2 separate regions of the Homo sapiens genome follow, and region 1 is linked to region 2. The links are contacts of gene promoters, found by promoter capture Hi-C in blood cells and fetal thymus (Javierre and others, 2016). All regions are on one chromosome and are shown on one strand. Each heading gives the region's core, a stretch centred on a gene start or on the middle of the fragment in contact. The rest is flanking DNA. Distances are from core to core; before and after follow the strand shown. Region 1 overlaps ATP7B (ATPase copper transporting beta). Region 2 holds the start of NEK5 (NIMA related kinase 5).

What was found. Contacts are between HindIII fragments. The CHiCAGO score rates a contact against its expected background, and 5 or more counts as called.
Region 1: a contact is called between a fragment that was not itself captured here and the fragment with the promoter of NEK5 in region 2, in 5 of 17 cell types (megakaryocytes, erythroblasts, M0 macrophages and 2 more). The highest score is 6.6, in megakaryocytes.

Annotation. Positions count from the first base shown.
Region 1 is chr13:51,975,516-51,981,776 of GRCh38, forward strand. All of the region lies in intron 1 of ATP7B (ATPase copper transporting beta), which reads right to left. Among named protein-coding and RNA genes, the nearest start is that of ATP7B, 33 kb to the right of the region's middle. The HindIII fragment of the contact is 1,517 bases long and covers 1,821-3,337 here.
Region 2 is chr13:52,127,736-52,132,009 of GRCh38, forward strand. NEK5 (NIMA related kinase 5) reads right to left here and starts at 1,338. Exons shown (of 24, transcript NM_001365552.1): 1 at 1,294-1,338. LOC101929657 (a long non-coding RNA gene) reads left to right here and starts at 1,160. Exons shown (of 2, transcript NR_110306.1): 1 at 1,160-4,274. The HindIII fragment of the contact is 11,669 bases long and covers 1-4,179 here.

The DNA.
Region 1 (6,261 bases), core at 1,329-3,828, 150 kb before region 2:
TCACGGTGGGAAGGCACAGGTATCCCAAAAGAGGTCCCCACCTCTGGCTGATACCTCCCCACAGAACTTAGTCCTTTCAGCTCAAACTTTGGGGGTCCTGCTGAAATACAAACCCCAGAATAGTCAACACCTTACTTCTATATCTCTTTCTAGGGGTGTCTGTCTGATTATCTTAGCAGAGGTTAAATGTGCTTAACACCCTTCAGGTACACGCTCCAAATGCAGACTTCCCAGGACCATAGGGTCGGAATCCAAAGGTGGGCCACATGCCTGTGAAAAAGCTTTGGAGGTATGCTCCCTGGGCGAGGTTTAATGAGCACCTGTGGCTGAGCCGAGGGGCGGGAGGGGAAAGGCTGGAAGAACAGAAAGTTGAGTTTCACAAGGAATTTCATAGTTCTGCCTGTGACTCAGTGTCACCGCCCTCCTGGGTGTTCAGGAGAGCTGTAGTCATTACCTGAAATTTCAGGTACATCACTTAATTAAAGAACCTGTTTTCTTAACACAACACAGTACAAGTGTTATTCCCTGGTTTCTACACAGGATGATGTAGTCTCAGTCATTCTATTAACAAGCAAAATCTTCCTTTCACAGGCTCCCAGCCTACAGCTGTCTTAACTAGATATACTTTTTACACCAGAACTTCCATGTGCTTCAGAAATTTGGGAACAGGCCTTTATACATGATACATCATAAAAAAGCACATTTCTCTCTACTTGTACACAATCCTGCTTGTCTTCAGATGAATCTCCTTTACATGGAATGATCTTCTCCTTTTTCCTGTGCATAAAATGCAGACCTTGCCAACCGGCTTTTGAGCAGCTTAACAACACAAATGTTTAAATAACTTGTAAAATGCAGACTATATAAATGTTGATTTCTATATCCACAAAGGTTTGGGATTAATAATTACATAGAATTTTAAATATTCACTGTAGCATTTCCTAAGAGAAAAAAGGGAATAATTAAGTAATTTGGGGGACAGCAGTTCAAAAGATATTGCTGAATCCAGTAAATACATGAATGTTTAATGATGTTAAGGATGGTGATACATTCTGAGAAATGAGTCATCATTGTGACTTCATCGTTGTGTGACCATCATAGAGTCACTTACACACACCTAGCTGATGTAGCCTACCAAACACCTGAGCTGTATGGTGTAGCCTGTTGCTCCTAGGCCACACACCTGTACAGCATGTTACTGTACTGAATACTGTAGGCAATTGTAACACAATGGTAAGTACTTGTGTATCTAAACATATCTGAACATAGAAAAGGTACAGTAAAAACACAATATAAAAGATTAAAAAATGGTGCACCTGTATGGGGCACTTATCATGAATGGAGCTTGCAGGACTGGAAGTTGCTCTGGGTGAGTCGGTGAATGAGTGTTGAGTAGATGTGAAGACTTAGGACACTGCACTACTGTCGATTTTATAAACACTGTAAACTTAGGCTACACTAAATTTATAAAAAATAGTTTTATTTCTTCAACAATAAATCAACATAGCCAGACAGTGGCTCATTGTAATCTCAATGCTTTGGGAGGCCGAGGCAGGAGGACTGCTTGAGCCCAGGAGTTCAAGGTTACAGTGAGCTATGATTGCACCACTGTACTCTAGCCTGGGAGACAAAACAAGACCCTGTCTCTGAAACAATAATAATAATTTATTAATTAACCTCAGCTTGCTGTAACTTTTTTACTTCATAAACGTTTAATTTTTTTTTTTTTTACTTTCGACTCTTTTGTAATAACACTTAGCTTAAAGCACAAACACACTGGACAGCTTTATCAAATATTTTCTTTATATACTTATCCTATAAGCTTTTAAAATTTTTTTATTTTTAAACTGTTTAAGCATTTTTGTTAAAAACTAAGACACAAACACATACATTAGCCTCGGCCTACACATGGTCAGGATCATCAGTATAACTGTCTTCCATCTCTACATCTTCTCCCACTGGAAGGTCTTCAGGTGCGATAACAGGCATGGAGCTGTCATCTCCTATAATAACAATGCCTTCTTCTGGATACCTCCTAGGACCTGCCTGAGGCTACTTTACAGTTAACTTTTTCTTTTTATAAGTAGAAGGAGTACACTCTAAAATAACAATAGAGTATAGTAAATACATAAACCAGTAACATAGTCATTTATTATCGAGTATTATGTACTGTACAGAATTGTATGTGCTCTATTTTTATATGACTGGCAGTACAGTAAGTTGGTTTACACCAGCTCACCAAAAATACATGAGTAATGCATTACTATGACATTACAACAGCTGCGAGATCACTAGGCAATAGGAATTTTTCAGTTTCATTGTAATATCATGGGACCAGTGTCATATGTGCAGTCCATCATTGACTAAAGCATCATGACTGTATAGTAAGGATGACATGGTATAACAATATTAACAGACAAATGACTAGCCACCTCGGACACCTACCTGGAAACGTCTACGTCAAAAGACATTTCAGGCAGATCAAAGATTAACATGTAAAAAAGAAATAACAAAAACACTAGAAGAAAACACAGGAGAATATCTACAATAATCTTAAAGTGAGAAAAGCCTAAATATGACCAACAAACCAGAACAAAACCAAGAAAATCCAAAAGCTATAAAAGATTTGACATAACTAAACACAATAAGGACAAAAAATTATTCAAATGAAGTCAAAAGATAAAAAACTGGGGGAAAAAAGATTTGCTTCACATAGCATACATTAAGAGTTAATTTCTTTAAATACAGAGAGTTCCTCCAAAAAAGAAAAAGGCCAACAATCCAAACAAAAAAGAAGACAGTTCATCAAAAAAGAAATGCATATGGTTTTTAAAATACATGGGAAAATATTAAAAAGAAATGTAACATTCCAACCACACTGGCACAGTCTTCCTACATTGCTAGTGGGAGTGTAACCTCTCTGGAGGGCAATTTGCAATACCTATTAAAATTACAAATTTACGTACTCTTTTACTCAGCAACTCTACTTCTAAGAATTTACCCAATAAATATATTTGTTCATGTGCAAAACAAAGCATGCCATGGAGATATTAAATGCTGAGAAAGATTAGAAACATCAATGTCCATCAATAAGAGGCTAGTTAATTACTGTACAGCCATAAATGGAATATTATTCAGCTCTTAAAATGAATGATGTGACTCTGTATGTAATGAAATAAGCTGATATCTAATATACTGCTCAGCAACAAAAGCAAGGCACAGAAAATATCATATATATAGCATGTGTTTGTTATCTGTTGCTACATGACAAACCAACTTTAGTACATTACTAGCAACAGCTCACAATTTTTCAATTCGGACAGGGCTTGGCAGGGAAAGCTTGTCTCTTCTCCACATAGCACCACTGGGGGTGGCCTGAATGGGGCTGGCAGTTCCACTTCCAAGAAGATAGTTCATTCATCACATGGCTGCCAAGTGGATGCTTGCTGCCGGCTAGGGGCTCAGATGAGGCTGTTGGCAGGGACCCGGTTCTCTTCCATGTGGCTTCTCTTTATGACTAGGTGGGGACCTCACAGCTGGGGGCTTCTGGGTACTGAGAGGGAGTGTCACAATAGCAAGCACTCCTCTAGAACACATTTCAAAGTGCAAGCTCTTATCAAACCTCTGCTTGCATCACACTTGCTAACACCCATTGGCCAAAACCAGTCACACGGCCAAGCACAGTCAATATGGGCAGGAATTACACGGAGCTTGAATACAAGGGTGTGTAGTTCACTGAGAGGGCTACAATTCTGTCATGGTGCTAGGACTACCTGTGTGAAACAAGAGAATATCATACAAATGGATGCTTGTATAGGCATGGATTATCTCTGGGACAGTGCAAAAGCTAGTACAGAATTTGAGGAAGATTAGGCAGCTGAAGGGGACCAGGTGGCTGGGATACAGAGAATTACTTTCACTATATAATTTAACTGTACAATACACACATTACCAAAATCTAAAAATTAATTTAAAATTAAAATAACATGAGCACAAAGAAGACTCAGAACAGTGACTTGATTGTAGTTGGTGTTAATTAAATACTTCTTTAATTAAAAAAGAACCAAGGATAAAAGAAAAACTAAGAAGATATTCAAAGACATTCATTTTCATATAGTACCTTATTAGGCAAAAACCTCTTCCTCATAATAAGAAAGACATAACCCTCAACCATCTAGTTTGTTGGAAAAACAAATCCCTCATGATAACCCAGTTTACATTTTTTGGTCCTCGCTCCAACTACAACTTTACAAACCCCAAACCATAACAGCAGCCCTTAATTTCTAGAATGTTGATTCTATGTTTCTGCCAAAAGGGTTTGCAGTAGTACTGAAAGCAATTTCTTATTATCAAACACTACTCAGAGGCCCCCCTTTCTAGACAGGCAGGTTTTTAAGGCCAAGCAGTTACAGAAGACAAAGCCTTGCAAATAACATATCTCTACAAAACACTAAAGTATCTGTTGGTCTAGGAACAACCTCATTAAACAACTGGTAGTGTTTGGATAGTTTTAAGTGTAGACACAGGGCATATGCATGCTTTTAATTCAGTTCTTCAATTAAGATGATCCTTGGGGGAAAAAACTCTCCTGATGAGTTTTAAAAAACAAACACAGGTTTAGATTTAAGGGCCCATCAAAGAGTCACAGAAATGGAGAGCAGGCCAAGGTTCCACATGGATATCCCAGAAAGCCTTGTGAAAGCCCTAGTTTATCTAATTCCCACTAGATTCTGCACTCCTTACGGACAGACATTTGGGACATTTTCTGCAGACCCAACACCAGGCTTTAGAATGACTTTTTCTAGCTTTTGAATTTTTGATAAATGATGGTAGACGTCAGGATGAGAAAGGACTGGAAGCAGAGGAGGCCACAGAAGGGAGTCCAAAAGTGAATTTCAATTCTCTGCTACCTCTCTAGGTACCCAAGTCACACGAAATTTGCTGAGAGTGCCAGGGCTTTTAAAATAAAATATAGGTTAAAAAAATAACTACTGATTCACCAAGATGAAGCCAGAAAGGAAAACAAAATCTCTGGATAAGCCATTCTGATATGAAGAAATCAGAAACTGGGTGGCATGTTTTCATGAAGGCTTTCAAAGCCAATCTGATAGTGAAAAAGCAGAAACAACATGCTTTGTTAGAAAGTGGCTGTGATCACAAATCAAAAAATACTAACTCATGTACAAGTGAAGGACCACTGGCCACTTTGGAGGTCTCTTGATCACTCTTGGATTCCCATCAACCTTAAATAGGATACCAGTCAGTCCCCTGCTGCCTATCCTCAAGAATTCTTTCACTTTGAAGGATGTATAACACCCATAACAACTTATGAGGCAAACATGTTATACATGAAGGCAACTTTTCCAATATATCACCTCCCCCCATACAACTTAACACATCTGAACTTTCATGGGATTCAAAATACAAAAAAGTCCGGATTCTTTCATATGCACGCAGATCCAATAATAACAAATAATTAATGATTCTGAGTGTTATTTTATGAGGATGGCATTTTATATCCCTCATGCTTAGGGCAATTCTAGAAGGAGATATTATCACCATTTCACTGTTGAAACTGACTCAGAAGCTTATCCAAGAGCACAAATCAACATTAAGTAACAGAGCTGGGATTTAAACGCTGCTGAGAAATCCGAGAGGCTCTGTATTTTTTAAAAACAACTTTTAGAGTAACCTTTTCTTTTCAGCCATGTTAATTATAGGAAGAGACTACAATGCAGAAAAGTGAAATGAAAATAAACAGCCATACCTGCAAGCAGCAAGCCAGGCTAACACACAAGAGAGCTGAGCTGCCTGAGCCCTGGCTTCACCCACTAGTATCTGTCACCTCAGGAAAACTACAGCAAAATATCCACACTCGCTCCACTTTCCTCAATATCCCTAATCAAGGCAACCACACTTACAGGAGAAGGCACACAAGACACAAGTCAGAGAAGACAACAGCTCTGGACCACGTACATCCTGAATATCTGGAATGAGTACTGCCTTGCTCGGCCTTATCTAAGAATTCTCTGGATGCCACAAATTCACAGGGGAGGGCACAGGTCAAAAATGATGCCTGACTCAAGAAAGGATCTCACCCAAACCATCCCAGGCATCCAGGCCAGTGGGGGTTGGTCTCTAAAACCCCCACTGAGGAAGAATCAATGTCCCATATTAACCTCTATGAACATTAAGTATACAGGGGGATAAACGTAAATATCAGTAGAGAAAATTCAGGTTATCTTTTGGTGAGTTATGAAA
Region 2 (4,274 bases), core at 88-2,587:
CGGGTAAGTCACTTAACCTGGCAAAACCTCACTTTCCTAATTTCTAAAATGGAATAACAATACCTGTTTTGCAAGTTTGTTCTGAGAATGAAAGATACTATATCCGGTGTTTCGCACCTTTATAAAGCAGGAATGTCCTTAGGCTTGTGCACTTTTATAGTTCAGCCTTTCTTAGTGGGGACGTACTGCCCCCTAGGGGGAATTCTGGAAATATATGGGGGTGGGGAAGCTGTTTCCCCAAGATTCAGAGGCATGAGGTTTACAGGTGGTTGGGGCCTGAGATGGTAGGATTCTGCGATTCGAGAGACAGTCCCGCACAATAAAGGATTACCCCGCGGCCCTACAATCTTGGAGAGTCTTCCTATACATTCCTGTGCGTGGAAAAATCCGTTTGTGGCTAGAACCAAACTCTATTTTACATCGAAATGCTAAGTATTTTTGCAGTTTTAATGAACACTTCTTTTTTTTTTCGAGGAATGCAACTACATGTAAATCAAGGCTTGATTGCACTTCGGTTTGGAGGTTTACCAAGAATTGTTCACCATTTGGGAAAACCACGCGCTTCACTGGCCACGCTGCTCCTGGTCCCGGAGACCCAACAATCTGCATTTGCTGCCGTCACGTTCAGGCGACTCCCCAGGCGCGGCTACTGGCTACTTCTCTACATTTTCCAAGGGTAGTAGTGCCAAGCATTTTCAGATTGAAATATGTACTTTCTTACTTATTGCTTTCCTTCTATTTCCTCTTTATGCTACAGTTAGGGCATAATACAGTTTTGTTGTTGTTGTTAATGGGGTGAGCAGGGGGCTTGTTTTCGAATAATTTTACGTCAGGGTGGGAAGTCGGTACTGGGTTGCAGGGGGCTGGGAACCAGCTCCGCAGCCAGGAGAGGCTGCAGACACCGGAGGATCGGGTTCTGAGAGAGACGCATACGGACTTGGGGCCGGGGGTGACTCGCCGGGAACTGAGGGCCCGCGACCCTCCCGCCCAAGTGGCACCAAAGGGTGGAAGCCCCCAAATTAGGAAAATTCCTTCTCCCCTAGGGCCGCCCCTGGAAGCGGCCGCGGGTGAGTGGCAAGACGCTTACCCGTACCCGACCTCCGCGTGTGGAGCGTTGCCATAGAGACCGACGCGCCCTGGACGCTACACCCACACAGCCCAGGACGCTAGGCCTTTTCTGGGCCGCCCCCGCCGCCCCAGGCCGAAACTCCATCCCTTTCCCCCACCCTGCCGAGCTCCCGAAGCCCTGTGGCGGCTCCGGGCAAGAACTAAGGGCGGCCCCTGCAAGCGTACCTGCTCCGCCGGCTCCGCGGGGCCAACGAAGCGTCCCGGAAGGATCCGGGTTCCCGGGGCCGCTGCGCCTCCCTGCGGCCGGGGCGGAGCCGCGCAAGGAAACGCGGGCGGGGCGCGGGTCTGGAATGGCCTGGGGACCAGTCCACCTCGAGGCAGGGTCAGGCGCCAGGGAGTTTGGAGACCCGGCAGAGTCACCCCGCAACCGTCCCGTTGCCTTGGGTCGGGATTCCTTTGCTTTGCAGTCTACAGTAGCGCTCCCCGCTCTTGCTTAAGGTGCACCAGACGCTTCGCAAACGTTCTCTCTTTTCTTTACAACCCGTCAAGGCAGTAGTCTCCCAGTTTTACAAATGAGCTAAACTGATACAGGAAGAGTGTTTCTTGTACAAGGTCTCAAATATTGCCAAAAGGTGGACGTGAGACTGGAACGGCTTCCTACTCTTTGGGCCACAGCGGCGGCCTGCCAAGGGACTTTCTAACGAAACCGGCGCTGCCCAAGCGTCTGCACTCACGCCCAGTGCTCATCCCACCCTGCCCCATTCTGGATTTGCACATCAAGCTGCTGTCTAAAATGTTTAAGTAGTTGAAAAAAATGTAATTTTCAGCAATTGTAAATAGTGACGCAAGTTAAATATATCCAACTGAATCGAAACACTACAGTAATATGGTACCCTCCATCGTCCACCTCACACACACACACAAAAAAAACCCACAAAAAACTCTTAAAAATCCTAAGTTTACATCATTACTCTTCCTTCTTAAAATCATCTCTCCGCCGCCCCCTCCCCGTCCCTGCCACAAAAAATTTCTTCTTCTTGTAAGCACTCTAGTCAAGTTGGATTAGGGCTGAACTAAAGGCCTCATTTTGATCTAATTGCATCTTTAAAGTCTCTGTCTCCGAATATAGTCTCATTATTAGTTATTGGTGTTAGATTTCAGTGTGTGAATTGGGGGTGGCCGCGGCGGGGGTGAATGCAGCCCGTAGCAGGAGTCCAAAAGTTGTTTAGCAGTTGGAATATCCAATGTTAGTTTCTTTGGCAGTGAAATTCCCTCAAAATATTAGTAGGTATATGATCTACTTGTTTTTGTTTAATTACACGTGTCAGTGACCACACCCAAATTTCTTCCCTAGAATTCTTAGACATGCTTCATTAAATCATATCTTCATTCTACTTTCCTGATAGAATTTTACCCGTTATCTTTTTCATACTTGAAAGTCTTATTGATCATCCTATCATACTGCTGAAAGAAGTACAGAAATGGAAATTTATATTTCCTGCTCATAGAATTTTAGTTTTTCTGGATTAAATTGTTAAAATTACTAGTACTACACAATTGATCACAATAAAATGTATCACAATACTGATAATTATTAAATATAAAAAATAAAATTGTATTGAAAATTCATCTCTTTAAGACCTGGATGGGCTTCCCATGCACCGTTAGTTCCTGTATCCATAGATGAATGCTAACTTCTTGCTACAATGAAGTTTAACACTGATTCTCTTCCATTTTCTTAAGGCTGTAAGTGCTGAGAAATAAGTACATAGGAATGAAAAGTTTTGTTAAAAGTGTCCCTCAATTTTTGTCTAGTTGTATCTCAAGAATCATATAGTAATCTGTCACCAAAACTGGTTTATAATCATGAACTGATAATTCCATTAGTCTTCTGAAATTTTATTAAAAGCAAAACCCCATAAGCCATTCTGATTTTGAAAAGGATTTATTATCCAATACTTATCCAGTCTCTCAGTAACTGTACATAATTTCAAGTTTTTTTTGTTTGATGGTTTTGAAATGTTTATGCCCTTGGGCAATGCCAAGATTGAAGATGACTAAGAGGTATGGAATACAGTATATATGGAAGCTGAGTACCTGGAAATGTCCTTAAAACTATCCATGCCTGCTTTAACTTGAAAAATCTTCAAGAGAGTAGTAAGCTAATTTCAAAGAGCTAACCCAAGTAATTTTGGGAAATGGTATTTGACTGGAAACTATGAGACAATAGGAAAGATACATAAACTCTGTACCTTAGTTGGTAAATTTGTTTCTCCCAGGGGTATGGGTTAATGATTTGGAAACTGCTTTACAAATAGACTAGGATTGAACAGCTAAGCAGATGGCGGATGGTACAAGCCAGTTTTCTCATTGTCAGGGAGAGAAGTTACAGAAAAGCGTGAGAAGAAGGCTAGAATGAACCTTGTAGTACTGGGTTAGTTGGAGACATCAGTATGGACCCATGCTTAATTTAATGTATGTACAGATGGAGAGATACAGAAATAACTGTAGAGATGTCTGGATGGATATACAATTATACAGTGTATACAGGTTAGTATACACATATATACTTCCTAGCTCTGTCTGCTGAGAGGGCCTAGAAGCAGTGACACCCCAGGAGCAATAAGCACACCCAGCACCCAGATCTTGGTTTCTAAACCAGTGGGAACCTTGTTGAAATGGATGATTTTGGGGCTGGGGCAGAGAAGATAAAGATGAGTCTGGACCATCTTGTAGTGCCAGAAAGGAAGTGCTCCAAAAGAACCAGCGCACCTCAAAGGGACACAGGAGGTGACCTGAAACAATTCCCAACGGCCAAAGCTAGAACAATTTAAGCAAGAAAACAAACGACTTATTATTGGATTATACTCCCACCCCCAGAGGTGGAGATTAATTCCTTTGCATTTGACTATGAGCTGGAGTGTGTGACTCACTTATAGTGAACACAGCATGAACATGGAAAATTATGAAGTTGATAGTGAAGAGCCTGGCAGACACTGCCTTCATCAAGTGATCAAGGTGAACGACACCAGGAAGAAGTCATGCTGATGCTCCCTGAAATGATGTGATGAGAAGGGCACTTCACCTTTGTGATTTTCCCCAAAATCCATAAGCTTAGTCCAATTGTGAGACAAACCCAAATTGAGCAACAGTCTACAAAATACCTAAGCAGTACTCAAAAATGTCAAGGTCCCGAAAAACAAGGA